Regions from separate parts of the Homo sapiens genome. Here region 1 is linked to region 2. Evidence: promoter capture Hi-C in 16 types of primary human blood cells and fetal thymus (Javierre and others, 2016). All regions are on one chromosome and are shown on one strand. The core of a region is centred on a gene start or on the middle of the fragment in contact, and the rest is flanking DNA. Distances in the headings are between cores, read along the strand shown.

Region 1 (2,700 bases), core at 155-2,654, 410 kb after region 2:
CAGAGTGAGACCCTGTCTCAGAAAAATAAAAGAAGGTGTTATTTGTAATCCTTTACATGTAAGCTGTCAAGCTTCTCAGTATTAAGGAATAATTCACACACCAAATATAAAGCAATCAATACTTTCCTTTACATACTAGGCATCTAGAAAAGGGTCCTAGGCTGGACATGGTGGCTTATGCCTGTAATCCCACCAATTTGGGAGGCTGAGGCAGGAGGATTGCTTGAGCCTGGGAACTTGAAACCAGCCTGGGCAACACAGTGAGACCCCATCTCTACAGATGTCTTTTAAAAAAGAAAAACTTCTTTTTCTTCTCTTTTTGCTGAGTAAAAAGACACATCTACCCCCTTATATATACTCACCCACATATATAGGTACACATACCTACATATACTCACCACTACACCTTACACATAACCCACATGACATATACAGGTACACACACCTACATACACTCACCTCTCTACCCTACACATATACCTACCTACATACACACACACACAGAACCTTAAAGAACAGTCATTTTGTTACTCCACATTTCTAGTGATGAAATTTGAATTCAGATCCACATGGCTCTGTCCATGTGGTTTAAGCCCAAAAGCTATATAAGAATACACTAAAATGTCCCCATTCACACTGTCCCCAGTCATCTTAAAGAACAGTTAGTCATTTTGTTATCCTAGATTTCTAGTGATGAAATTTGAATTCTACAGAGTTGAAGGGTGGGGTGATGGGGAGAAGTTATGAAGAGCTTAGGTCAGGTCCCCTTCATGGACATTTAGGGCCCTGCCCTTGACAGGACATGACAGCCCCTTCCTCCTCCCAGGTGATTGATTGATTGATTGAAATAGCATCTCACTCTGTTGCCCAGGCTGGAGACAGCGGTGCGATCATGGCTCACTGCAGCCTCAGACTCCTGGGCTTAAATGATCCTCCTTACTCAGGAGTGGCTGGGACTACAGGCATGTGCCACCATGCCTGGCTAATTTTTATTTTTATTTTTTTGTAGAGAGAGTGTCTCATTATATTGCCCAGGCTGGTAGGTTGTGATGGAGATGTCTAACACACAGACACACGTACACACATGCTTACCTGCATCCACTTACGCACACACACCTACATGCACAAACCTCACAGACATTTTGCTTTGCCAGGGTTGATCTGCCAGAAATCTTCATGGAGCTTATATCAAGGGATTCATACCCACCTGCTGGCATAACTGAAAAATGTCTAAATATATATATGAATTTTTTTTTTTTTTGAGACGGAGTTTCACTCAGTTGCTTAGGCTGGAGTGCAGTGGCATGATCCCGGCTCACTGCAACCTCCACCTCCCAGGCTCAAGCGATTCTCCTGCCTCAGCTTCCCGAGTAGCTGGGATTAAGGCACGAACCACCATGCCCAGCTAATTTTTCTATTTTAAATAGAGTTGGGGTTTTGCTATATTGGCCAGACTGGTCTCAAACTCCTGACCTCAGGTGATCCACCCGCCTCGGACTCCCAAGGTGTTGGGATTACAGGCGTAGCCACTATGCCCAGCCTATATATGAAAAATTGTCTGAATAGATGATCTGTTCATGTAGTTTAAGCCCAAAAGCTGTCCACGTGGATACAATACACTGAAATGTTCCCTCTCACAGTGTCCCCAGTCACTGTTGCCTCTCCCACAGCCCTAGGGGTATCCATTCCTAGATGTAAGTCAATATAAAAACACTCTTCTCCCTCCTTTTTATACAAAAGCACCAAAGTATTCATCTTGTCCTGATTTTGCTTGTTTTAGTTAACAATATGTCCTGTAGGCTGGGCGCGGTGGCTCACACCTGTAGTCCCAGCACCTTGAGAGGCCAAGGCGGGTGGATCACCTGAGGTCAGGAGTTCAAGACAAGCCTGGCCAACATGGTGAAACCCTGTCTCTACTAAAAGTACAAAAAATAAGCCGGGTGTGGTGATGCATACCTGTAATCCCAGCTACTCGGGAGGCTGAGGCAGGAGAATTGCTTGAACCCAGGAGGTGGAGGTTGCAGCGAGCCGAGATCGCGCCATTGAACTCCAGCCTGGGCAACAAGAGTGAAACTCTGTCTCAAAAACAAACAGAAAAACAAATAAAAAATCAAAAAAACCCACAATATGTCTTGGACATCTTTCTGTAATGGTACATAAGCAGACAATGTAAATTTGGACCTTACTTTGGTCAAAGCATGTCTGTCTCCTCCCTGGCCCAGGGTCACTTTATGGAAGCCACCTTCTATTACCTGTTACCTTCCATGACTCATAGTCTGCTGTCTGCTTCTGACTCCTCAGTTGTTGGATTTCCCCATCCACTGCAGTGGGATGGAGACAAGCAGCCCCATCACATAAGTATCGGGGAAGAAAGTGATAAATAGGTTCTCAGTGTATAGGCAGAGGAATTTTAAAGGACTCCATGGTGGGGTGAAAGGTCTGGAAATGTTTACTTGGTGACTGCACTTCAGGGAGCTTCATGGGTGGGTAAGAGGGAGGGAGAGAATATTCACTTAGTGCCAATTGCCTGGCACTATGCCATGTGAATGTGATACTGATTTGACAGTGATGCCAACTCAGGCTTTATTTATTCCTGTGGGCAAGTGAAACCTCAGAGAAGTTAAGTAACTTGCCCAGGGTTGCTCAGAGGTGCCGAGACATGAGCTGAAGTCTGTCTGACTGCGTGGTGTAGGCTCGTTC
Region 2 (2,700 bases), core at 10-2,509:
TTAGCCAGGTGTGGTGGTGCATGTAAACCCAGCTACTTGGGTGGCTGAGGCAGAAGAATCGCTTGAACTCAGGAGGTGGAGGTTGCAGTGAGCTGAGATCATGCCACTGCACTCCAGCCTGGGCGACAAGAGTGAGACTCTGTCTCAAAAAAAAAAAAAAAAAAAAAAGAGAATGAGTCTCCAAGAGAAGCTTTCAGGAGCCCAGGGAATTCACATGGATGCATGATGCACACACACACACACACACACACACACACACACACTCCAACACCAAAGTTCCAGGAGAGTAAAAGACTCACGTAAGCAGAGACACATGTGATAAGATCCCCCTACACATAGATACATAGGGCAGAATGTGTAGACACATAGAACAAACACATGCTAGACACACATAGGCACACATGTAGAACACACATAGACAGAAGCACAAAAAGCCACATATGCACACAGCCTCCCCAAATATACAGATACAGAGATGCATAGAAGTACTTGACATGAAAAGATGACAGATAAGTATTTCTGTCATTGAGATCCCAGGAGACATTCCTAGAAACACAAACACCTTCACAATCACAAAGAAACACATGCACACAAGACCCCCCCAAATACAAGACTAAACATGTCAACACATATGAACACACACATGCTCAGACTCCCAGAAGACATAGAACACATAGCAATGAGTGAGCACATACAGAAATGCATAAATACATATGCAGACACATATCTTAATCATTAATGTCCCTGGAGGGAGTTAGAGGCACCCCCCCCAACATGCACACAGGATAGAACATGTAGACATACATATATGGACACACATCGTTCACACACAGATGCAAATAGAAAACAAGCACACACATCTAAAATTTGAAGTCCCAGGAGGCAGATTCCTCCCCACTCCCACAAGCACACAAACACAAAGAGTTTGCACAGAGACCCGTTACACACGAACATACAGGACAGAACATGCAGACACACAAGGGCACACACCTCCATCGCTAAAGTCCCGGGAGAGGTTTCGCTTGGGCCGGGACAGAGGGATGTTGTCTACCCACAGGTACAGCTGGTGCAGCGCCTCCTCGTCCACGCTGCTCGCCATTGGCGTCCTCACGGCCTGGCCGCCCCAGCGGTGCCGGGTCCCGCCCCAGCCTCACGACCCTTCAGGCGCTTCCTTTCTCGCCACTGCAGAAGCCCATAACTGCCTCTGCCTGCCTAATCCAGAGACTCACGTCCCAGCTGGGAGCGGCCATATTGTTTTCTGAAACCATGGAAACCATTCCCGACTCTCCTGGGTACAAAGACTTCTGGGAGTTGTAGTTTTATCCCCTCCCCGCTACCTCCTCTCAGGCCCGAGCTTTGAAAAGGCGGTTAGCTGCCCTTGTCTTCTTCCCAAGAAAGCATCACTTCTGTGCCCACGCCACCTAGTGACCAGCCACTCATCCATTTTGGGACCAGCCAAAGCCAACCAGGACCCCAGAATTCCTGCATCTGCACCCCTAGGGTGGGGATCCCCCTTCTTGGCCCTTCAGCCCTTTAGTCCCAAGTGAAGGGAGCACTCCAGTGTTGGTCAGCTTTATTTGGGGGTGCGTTGTTGATAATCTGCCACCCAAATGGATTGCGTGATACAACTGCTTCCTGCTTCGTCCCTCTCCAAAAACTCTATGCTCATGGGGCCATTGCCACTCGCCCTTCCCAGCAGTGTTCTAGTGGGGTATTTAATAGGTAACCCAGACTCCCAGGGAGAACACCAGAGTTCAAGGCCAGTACCTTGGCAGGTCATTTAACTTCTTAACTCTATTTCCTCCTTTGTGAAATGACGATGGTTCTCACTTATTTGTCCCAAACCCCTCATCACCCGTCAATGAGCTATTCTTCCATGGATTAGAAATTCATTTCAGGCAGGGCACAGTGGCTCATGCCTGTAATCCCAGCACTTTGGGAGGCCGAGGCGGGCAGATCACCTGAGGTCAGGAGTTCGAGACCAGCCTGGCCAACATGGCTTTCGCCCCGTCTCTACTGAAAATACAAAAAAAAGTTAGCCATGTGTGGTGGTGGATGCCTGTAATCCCAGCCACTGAGGAGGCTGAGGCAAGAGAATCGCTTGAACCCGGGAGTCAAAGGTTGGTGAGCCAAGATCATGCTATTGCACTCCAGCCTAGGCGACAGAGCGGGACTCCATCTCAAAAAAAAAAAAAAAAGAAAGAAAAGAAAAGAAAGAAACAAATTCATTGCAGTACCCATAAGGGGGTTAGGAATATGGGTCCCTCCTTAGTGAAGAGGTACTTCTAGAGTCAGGATGAGAAGAGAGTTTGACTAACGGCATGGCCTTGGGCACCTGACCGGACCGCTGCCTGGTTTCTCATGGCTTTACCTACCTTATAGGGGCTTTGTGAGCATCTAAAGCATTTAGCACAGAGCAGGGGCCCTATTAGTATCAGCTGGTACTATCATTAATGAGACAGTCTCAGTTCCAGCAAGAACTGTTCTTTTTCGCAGGAGACAAATGGAAGTAATTCGTCTTGTTGGAACCTGCGGTGAGGTAGCTGGGTTAAACAGGAGCACCTGGGCAAGCAGGCAATGCTCCTCCTGCTCACTCGAGAGCAGGTGGGGCTTCCTTGTGGCCTTCTGGTCTCCAACTCCAGGGCTCGGATTTCGGGAGGGAAGGTGGTGGCAAGGGGGATCCCAACTACTTTTTGTTGT

Evidence for each region. Contacts are between HindIII fragments. The CHiCAGO score rates a contact against its expected background, and 5 or more counts as called.
Region 1: a contact is called between a fragment that was not itself captured here and the fragment with the promoter of SPEF1 in region 2, in 1 of 17 cell types (erythroblasts). The highest score is 5.2, in erythroblasts.

Annotation. Positions count from the first base shown.
Region 1 is chr20:4,188,694-4,191,393 of GRCh38, forward strand. No RefSeq gene overlaps it. Among named protein-coding and RNA genes, the nearest start is that of LINC01433, 3.0 kb to the right of the region's middle. The HindIII fragment of the contact is 2,670 bases long and covers 70-2,700 here.
Region 2 is chr20:3,780,189-3,782,888 of GRCh38, forward strand. SPEF1 (sperm flagellar 1) reads right to left here and starts at 1,260. Exons shown (of 7, transcript NM_015417.5): 1 at 991-1,260. The coding sequence starts at 1,099. RefSeq lists enhancers at 1,154-1,448, 1,410-1,559. The HindIII fragment of the contact is 3,327 bases long and covers 189-2,700 here.